3 separate regions of the Homo sapiens genome follow, and all the other regions are linked to region 3. Evidence: promoter capture Hi-C in 16 types of primary human blood cells and fetal thymus (Javierre and others, 2016). All regions are on one chromosome and are shown on one strand. The core of a region is centred on a gene start or on the middle of the fragment in contact, and the rest is flanking DNA. Distances in the headings are between cores, read along the strand shown. Region 1 has its middle 36 kb from the start of OR6M1. Region 2 has its middle 7.2 kb from the start of OR6T1. Region 3 holds the start of OR8D4 (olfactory receptor family 8 subfamily D member 4).

Evidence for each region. The method cuts DNA at HindIII sites, captures the fragments that hold promoters and counts their contacts. A CHiCAGO score of 5 or more calls a contact.
Region 1: a contact is called between a fragment that was not itself captured here and the fragment with the promoter of OR8D4 in region 3, in 1 of 17 cell types (neutrophils). The highest score is 5.3, in neutrophils.
Region 2: a contact is called between a fragment that was not itself captured here and the fragment with the promoter of OR8D4 in region 3, in 1 of 17 cell types (neutrophils). The highest score is 5.7, in neutrophils.

What each region holds. Positions count from the first base shown.
Region 1 is chr11:123,840,995-123,844,206 of GRCh38, forward strand. It overlaps the pseudogene OR6M2P. Among named protein-coding and RNA genes, the nearest start is that of OR6M1, 36 kb to the left of the region's middle. RefSeq lists an enhancer at 1-934. The HindIII fragment of the contact is 2,708 bases long and covers 1-2,653 here.
Region 2 is chr11:123,949,439-123,952,560 of GRCh38, forward strand. No RefSeq gene overlaps it. Among named protein-coding and RNA genes, the nearest start is that of OR6T1, 7.2 kb to the left of the region's middle. The HindIII fragment of the contact is 584 bases long and covers 1,319-1,902 here.
Region 3 is chr11:123,900,405-123,903,558 of GRCh38, forward strand. OR8D4 (olfactory receptor family 8 subfamily D member 4) reads left to right here and starts at 1,763. Exons shown (of 2, transcript NM_001005197.2): 1 at 1,763-1,853. The HindIII fragment of the contact is 7,569 bases long and covers 434-3,154 here.

The DNA of each region.
Region 1 (3,212 bases), core at 50-2,549, 60 kb before region 3:
GCTTCTTTCAAGACTGCCTTTACCTTTTCATTTCTTAGACTATAAGTGAAGGGATTCAGAAGAGGGGTCACCATTGTGGGGACAGCTGTCACCTTGTCAAAACCCATTGAATGACTCTGGCTGGGCCTCACATACCTGAAGATGTTGCTTATATAAGCGATGGAAATGACGGTGATGTGGGAAGCGCACGTGGAAAAGGCCTTCCGACGTCCTTGGGCTGAGGGGATGTGCAGGATGGTAGAAATGATGTAGATGTAGGACACAGTGGTGAGCACCAGTGAGGTCAGGAGGATGAGGGAAGATAAGAGGAAGTTTATCATCTCGATGAAATGAGTGTCTATACAGGACACATGTAGCAGAGGGGTGATGTCACAGAAGAAGTGACTAATTTCCTTGTAACAGAAAGGCAATCTGGACACCACAATGGTTGGGCACAACACAGACAGGAAGGCTCCAACCCAGCAGCCCAGAACTAGTAGGAGGCAGGCCCTGCTGTTCATGATAATGGTGTAGTGCAGGGGGTCACAGATGGCCACGTAGCAGTCAAAGGACATCACTGCCAAGAGGATAAACTCCACTGTCCCCAAGAAAACAAAGGAAATAAGTTTGGGTGATGCACCCAGCAAAAGATATGGTCTTCTTGTCCTGCAGGAGACAGGCTAATAGCTTTGGGATAACTGAGGTGGTGAAAAAAATGTCCAAAATTGACAAATTACTGAGGAAGAAGTACATTGGGGTTTGGAGGCGATGATTCGCACATGTTAGGGAAATGATGGCAACGTTTCCTGTTAGAGTAAGCATATAAGTAAACAAGAGGACTGCAAAAAGGGAAATTTGAAGCTGCTGAAGAACAGGAAAGGCCGTCAGGGTAAACTCAGTCACTGTGGTCTGATTTTGGATGTCCACTGCAGGCAATGCCTAGTGGGAAGCACATCTCTGAAAAAAAAAAGATAAAATGCAGAGATGATGCTCAACTTACGGAAGTTTTCAACTCCCAATATCTGTGATAAGAGTGAAATAGAAAAAACTTTGTGTGAGGAGTCAAGAGTGATTCGTTCACAGTCTGCTTCTGACTTTATTAAATGTGGTCCCTTGGGTAAATGACATTACTTCTTCTAACTTCAGTATTCTCATATTTCAAAGTTTTGATTGAATGAAATTATCCTCATGGTCCCTATAATTCTAGTCTTTATGATTTTAGTCTCTTTTACACAATGCTCCTTCCTGTCTCTTTTTTGCTCTTCCTGACCTACTACTTTCCCAGCTAAATTCTGTTCTTAAAAAGAGAGGCATACTAAACTGAGAATCTGGTCAATTATTTGAAAAATTGAGAAAAAGAAGGTTAATAAAACTTGAGTTAGGCCCGGTGAGGTGGCTCATACCTGTAATCCCAGCACTTTGGGAGACCGAGGTGGGCGGATCACGAGGTCAAGATATTGAGACCATCCTGGCCAACATGGTGAAACCCTGTCTCTACTAGAAATACAAAAATTAGCTGGGCACGGTGGCGGGTGCCTGTAGTCCCAGCTACTCGGGAGGCTGAGGCAGGAGAATTGCTTGAACTCAGGAGGCGGAGATTGCAGTGAGCTGAGATCACACCACAGCACTTCAGCCTGGTGACAGAGTGAGACTGTCTCAAAACAAACAAAAAACAAAAAAAACTTGTTACTTTTCTCAAAGTTATTTCAACTTTGAAGATATCTTCTAAATCAAAGAACAGAAACTGTTAAAACTGGCCAAGACAGTTAAATCGAGGGGAGTCAACATTTACCTCTACTCATTTTTGTTATTGTTACCATGTTTTGAATATCAGTGTAATAGACAATTGGACACAAATTACTCTAATCAATCAGTCTTTCCCTACTTAGTTTTTCTTTGTTTTTACTTTATATAATAGAAATGTTTTGATGTCTACACTGTTATGGAACAAGTAGGTCCATGATACATAATTCATAATCTGTGTAACCTATTTTAAATATTTTGAAAAAAATCTGATGGAAAAATGATTATTTGTTGTTATTTTGTTGTTTGTTGCCATGTTACATTCATGGCAGCATCCAAAAGAACAACAAACGTTTCCCCTTTCCTTCTCCAACTGATTCTTACAGGTTTTCCCAAAGAAGTCTTTTATACACGGCATTTTTTTCCCAGCCATTTGAAGAGTAGGTTATTAATAATACTGCAAAAAAGTGGATGCCGAAACATGTATTTGATCTATCGAAAAGATGTATATGAAACACTCAGCTTAATCTCTGAATACTGCCCTGCTTCACCGAAGATCTGTTTCATGTCTATGTAATTCAGCTGAAGCACTGTCCTCTGGTATATTATTTTGTGACCAGTGCTCTAGTTTCAAGTTAAAACAACTAATTTATATCTCTGAACTAGGTAAATTTTTTAACGTGGTGCACACAGAATTCCTCTTTAAGGGAGGCCATTTCCTCAGACTCTCTACCTGGGAAAAGTGACCTGCCAGAAGCTGTTACTATTATTATTTTTTCATTTATTCATTCTTTTAATTAACACATAGTTTTCTTTAGCATATGCCGTGCATCATGCAAATTTTCAGGTGCTGGAGCTATATCAGAGGAAAACAAAAAATATAAAGCAAAAACAAAGCAAAAATGTTAACAACAAAAAACTTCCCTTATGAAGCTTACAGTATAGTTAAGAGAGACAGAAAATTAGATAAATAAGTAAAATAAATGCTATGATCTTAATTGTGGTAAGTCTCAGAGCTAAGACATTTTTTCTAAACATATTTCCATTTGCAAATCTGGCTGTGACTTTTTCTGGTTCTTGTAGTTGCTTCTTTATTTTTATTCACTACTCATTTTTTCATGAATCAAGGTATCCTTGTTATTTTAATAATTATCTTCATCTTCTCTGTTCCATATAAGAACATTCTGGTTTCTTATAATTTTTTCACATTTCTAAGCTGTTGGTAAGTACACTTTACAAATGCATAGTGGTTTTTGTCTATTTAAGAGTAATTTTCAAATGAAAGTGGCATGGAATAACTTGACTTGCTGTTGAGCTTAGTAGCTCTTTTTACTTCCTTAACATCCTTGGTCCTGGTTTCTGAATCCATGAGTATTGGTCCTCTCCATATTCCTTCCCAGTCTAAATATTTCTTTTGTTTTTCATGAGGTCAGACGCCATATCTATTTCATACCTCATCCTTTGAGCCCAGAAGGTGCTCATTGATTTAC
Region 2 (3,122 bases), core at 361-2,860, 49 kb after region 3:
CATAGTTTTAGTACTCTAAATCTTTATGCCTTAAATTACTTATAAACAAAACTCCTTGATTCCAATGAGTCCAGTTTTAAGTCAAGAATAAAAATAAATTTTGGATATATGAAGTTGCCTGACATAGGAGGTGATATAAGTTATCTCCTTTACCTGTTCCAATACTGCATTTCTTAGGCTTCTTCCCCTGGCCAGTTTGAGGAATGTGCACTCAAAAGTTCTATCAGGATCCTGTTTATGTTCAATGGAGCACACAGAAGGCTTCTTGAATCTGCAGTTCTTTATGCTTCAAGTAATACCAAGCAAAACTCCTTCTCAGTGTTGAAAGAGAAGTTACTATAAATTTGCATGATTATTTCTTTGTACCTCCAATCAATTAAAATTTACTTTAACTTGCTTTGAATGGAAATCTCAAAAGGGAATAACTTTGACCAAAGTTCTCTAAAAGTAAACTAATGTAATTAGTCCTTCAAGGCTTTAGGGGGTGAGACGTTTGAGATTTGTCATAGAGTATGAACTGTACTTCTTCAAAAAAAGATAGAGCTACTTCTTGTGTACAGAAGTAGTAGAAAACTTGTTACTGTATTTGAACTTTAAGAAATTCTCTTAAGCTAGGTAGTGACTCAGTGAGGCCTTGGGTATCTTGACGATGTAATGAAATTATAACAAATATATCCATATATATTTATCCATATATATATGGATATATATTTATCCGTATATATATCCATATATATTTATCCATATATATATGGATATATATTTATCCGTATATATATCCATATATATATGGATATATTTGAATATATATATATGATCAGTGTTAATTTGAAAATCCAATCTTTTTTTTTTTCAATGAGCATTGAACATTGAGTCACATACTAATTATGGTATATAATACTTGGCATGAACTTGGGTAAGTTACTTAAATTCCTAGCTTCAGTTTCTTCATCTGTAAAATGGGTTTCATAGGATCTTTAAGAGAAATAATTGTGTATAATTTGCACCCAGGTGATCAACGGAGATGAGAAAAAATATTTGAATCTTGCTCATTATCAAGAAGTTCAAATAAAAATTATCTTCTCATTTATATACATTCAATAAGCTCAAAGTATCTACTTATCAAATTATCTGCGTACTTCACCCCTTTCCCACCAAAATGTTGAACTTGTAGTTCATCAAAACCATACTGTAAACTGTTATGAGTTTACCTTTCTAGACGTGGTTATATTGAAATATTTTGCATGCACTGAAGTGTAAAATGAATGAAAAATGTTGGATTAAAAGAGATTCAATAAAAATCTAAAGAATATTTAAAAGCTTTATTAATGATTGTCTAACCTTGATTGGAATTTTAAAATGTGAAGTTATGTCAAAATGTGTAGTAGGGATTTTTATTTGCACTAAATTATGTTTTTTTCTCCTTCCCTAGAAGCCATTTTATGCTACTCTTAGGACATCATATGCTAAAGATATTATGGCTTAAAATAGATAATGGACAATGTTACACTGATGAGAATTATCTGTGTAAAGAAAGTTTTCAGTCATTCTAGGATTTCCAAACCTTGTCTTCTTAAATATGATAGAATGGTAAGTTCAATAAAAACTATCCATGTTCTGTGGGGAAAGGGGGTCAGTGAAGAGCCAGCCTTGCTGTCCTTTTCAGGAATTAGATAAAGTGTGCCTTAAGAGTGTCAAATACAGGTCTGGGCACTATGGGCACACTATTTCCACCTTTATTCTACCTTTCCTGCTGGGTCAACTTGCTACAGAACTGGGAGTCAATCCTGGAGTTCTAGTCTAAAACTCACTTCCTAAGCACACCTGGTGATTTTGTAAGCACTTAATTCTCTATTCTTTCTTGCTTAAAATAGCTAAAATCATTTCCGTTTCCTTCACTGAAGCTTAAATAATATAAATGCCAATGAGGAGGGACTTCTGTGAACTATGACAATAATCATCTTATCCAGAGGATATTTTGGTGTCCTACTTGTTCTGAAAGCTTCCCCTATAGAACAGCCAAGAAACAAGAAATGAGTTCAAAATAGAGTGCTCATTAACACATCTAATGATATCTACATTCATCTTGAGAAATAATGCCCCTATGTGACAATACTTCATCTTAGGAAAAAAAAAAAAAGGATATTAATCTGAGAGGGGTTTGGTATCATTGTTATTTTTTAAAAAGTGGATTTTTAAAAATTTTCTTTAAACATTTTTTACATGCCTACTTAATATGGTTAATCCATATGAATGGGTTAGGAAAAACTGAAATGTCTACTGATTAACTGAGTTACCTCAAAAACTAAACTGCAGCATTAAATTATTCTAAGATGTTACCCAAATCGAGAATATGTGTTGAATTACATAAAGTATGTAGCATTCCAGATCCTTTTCTTGAATCTCTTCTCCTAAACAAGATAACTTATTGGCTGTTTAAATGCTCTTGTGGAATGTTTCTTATCTTTTCCTTTTTGCCATCAAAATATACCTTTATTTGTTACATGAGTAACATAAACATTAAAAAATAGTGTATTATTGATTTTGCCACAACACTCCCAGAACTATTAGCAACTTAAAAAAAGTTAGAAGTGACGAATAAGAGCATTACATATTGATATAGGGGTCAATTCAATAAGAAGAGCTAACTATCCTAAATATATATGCACCCAATACAGGAGCACCTATATTCAAAAAACATGTTTTTAGAGACCTAAAAAGAGACTTAGACTCTCACACAATAAAAGTGGGAGACTTTAACGCCATACTGTCAATATTAGACAGATCATTGAGACAGAAAATTAACAAAGACCTTCAGACCTTGAACTCAACTCTGGATCAAGTGGACCTGATATATATCTACAGATCTTTCCACCCCAAAACAACATAATACACATTCTTCTTGGCACCACGTGGCACTTACTCTAAAACTGATTACACAATTGGAAGAAAATCACTCCTCAGCAAATGCAAAAAAAAAAAAAAACCCTGAAATCATAACGAACTGTCTCTCAGACCACAGCACAATCAAATTAGAACTCAAGAGTAAGAATCTCACTCAAAACCACACAACTTCATGGAAACTGAACAACCTGCTCCTCAATGATTCCTGGGTAAATAAT
Region 3 (3,154 bases), core at 513-3,012:
CTAACATATAATCTGAACATTTCTCTTTGCCTTTGGATTATATTTCTTCATTTGCTTTTTTTTTGTTTTTTTGCAATCAGATATGCTCCATATTATATTTGTGTAGCAAATCACTAATATTTTTTAGTTTCAAAATAAACTATTTGCATAGTGAGGCAGCAATACATACACACACACACTCTCGCTTACACACATGATCATAACAGGGATTTACTTCACTAAACATTATTCATAATATGTATAATTCACAGGCTGGTAATGGGTATCTAGACTATAGCTGAAGTTTTGTGTTTTAAGCATTTGACTCCAGTAGGCCTCTATGCAATAAGCTTGCTTGGACAAGTATAAGTAGGATTGATGGTTATTTATAATATTTGATTTTAAGAATAAGCAAGAATATTGTGTGTTACATATCTGCTCTTCTAATACCATAAGCTTCCTCATTCATGACTGATTTCCCCTGGTTAAGAATTGATCTCATTTTGTTATTTATCTAGTAAGTGAAAATCCTCTCCTGTAAGTTGGCCTATTTTAATCAGCATTTCAGATCACGATCTTCTAGACAGGAGAGAACAAAGTGTTCTGATTGAACTAGATGCTGGGTAGGAATGAGGATGATGCTGAAAAAAGTAAATTCTACTCTAAGCCGGTCATTGCGATAGGCCCTAATGAATGAGAAATTGTCCCTTGTCTCAACGGCGGGGGGGCAATTCCCAAAGAGCAGGGAAGACAGGCACAAATACATGTATGGGGGGACAATGTTAAAGCAGAGGTCAGTACACTGGGAGAATAGTTAAGGGAATAGGAATGGTACCAAAGCACTTTTCCCAAGGAAATAAATTGACATTAAAACATGTTTTAATAACCATCCAATATGAATGGGGGAAGGACCATGCTTTATTTATCCTGGCTCCATCTCCAGAAATTTAGTGTCTTTGACATGGTAGACACTATTGATTATGAGATAATCTGAAGTGGTGTCACAGTTTTCCCCAAAGGCAGATCTGAATATAGCTGTTTGCCCCTGAAAATGTGGAGGCTTTAAGTGCATGTGTTATTTTAACAGAGCCACAAAAGGCTCACCCAAGGATCACCAGGCACATTCTTCCAGATGTCCTGGAAAGCCATTAGAACAGACTGGAGGGCTGGACTCAGACTCATTCCTCTGACTCTTCTTCCATCATTAGCAGACACTAGAAACACTGAATCTACTGCTTTCATCCAAGAAACACTTCAGCTATTCCCAGTGTTCTTCACATATTCCTTAGGTTTTCTACTTCTCAGTTCCTTTGCTTATGCCTTTATCTACGTCTTGAATATTCTTTCATATCCTCTCAGCTTAAATGGATCCTCCCCACCTTTGAAGGCATATTTTACAATCTACCTTTCCATGAAGATCGTCCTTATCGCTCTAGACAGTAATGACCTGTTCCATCTCTGACCTCAAAGTCTACCTACTGCTTATTATACCAAGCACTGTCTATGATGCCTCATTTGTTCAACATTTTAAAATGCAAGCCATGTGTTAGACCATGTATCTTCCCCGACTGAATGGCAAGGGGCATTAGTGTGACTAATCCATGTTAGATTCCCAAAATGATAGGCCAGTTCATGGATAGTTCTTACAAATACATAGGCTGCTGTACCTCAGGAGACAAGAAACCCTTGGGACTACTGGTCTTTATATTTCTTGACACAAAATACCTGAACTGAGAATAAAAGTCATAGCTTCTTGTTAGCTGTTGTCACTCAGACACTTAAAGAAGAAGGTAAAATCAATCCATCTCTACTCCTGAAGTGATGAGGTTAGGAGAAAGAAGAGATACTCACCTACAGTCTTCAGGAGGAAAAAGGTGAGCTTCAGAATTATGATGTTCATATTATAAGTATATTAAAATGTGTTCTGAAATCAATTCCCGATTGTCCCCATGGGTTCTCGAGCTGCATGTTTGAGGCCACTGAGTCACAGAAGTTTAGGGAAGAGGCCATAGGCATCCATCTCAGACTCATTTATGCATTGTCCAGTCACCTTACCTAAGTATCTTGTGTCTAATATATGAATTAATCTGTGAAATCACCTGCTTTAAAAATATATTTACAAATATATTTATGTGAACCTTATAATATGTAAAATACATTCACAGTTATTGTCTCATTTGATTTGCATAACAATCTTTTGAAGTATTTATTATTTTTTACAGATTAAAATATGAAGTTCAGAGAGACTTTATGAGTCAAAGGTTGCACTGTAAATCTTAGAAATGAAAATGATACTGCATCTTATAACTCAGGGTTCATGGTCTTTCTGTTACCTCTGTACTAATGGTTTCTTTCTTTAAAAGGGGACAATTCAGATTTGAAAGATTTAGGGAAAAAGATCACATTCTAGACTTCTGTTGTCCAGTAATATAGCCACTAGCCATAGGTGGCTACTGAGCATTTGAAATCTGGCCGGGTATAAAATACACTATGGATTTCAAAGATTTGTATAATAAAATAATGTAAAATATCTCATTATTTTTAAAATATGAATTATATGTTGAAATGATGTACATGTACATCATTTTGCATGTACAGTTGGCCTGTGTGTCTGTGGGTTCCACATCTGTGGATTCAACCAATGGCAGATGGAAGATTTTTTTTTAATGGGTGGTTATATCTGTACTGAATATGTACAGACATTTTTCTTGTTATTCCCTGAACAATATACTAAAAGAAATATTTACTTAGCATTTACATTATATTAGGTATTATAAGTAATCTAGAGATGATTTAAAGTATACAAAAGGATGTGCTTAGTTAGGTTACATAAAAATACGACACCATTTTAAATCAGGGACTTGAGCATTCAGGGATTTTGGTATCTGAAGGGGTCCAGGAACCAGTCTCCTATGGATATCAAGGACTGAACTGAGTTAAACAAAACATACTAGTAAAATGTATTTTATCTTTTTATTCTGACTTTTTACAAAATGAACTTCTAGGATGTTTTAAATTGCCCGTGTGTCTGCATTATATGTCTATTGGGCAATGCTGATCTAGCATTTACCTTTGCAAAATACTTTCAATAGTCATAGTTTTAATAATACTGTGAGATGCATTGAAATGTTTAAAAACACTTTTCTTATGATTTTAAATTGCTAAAAACCACCTG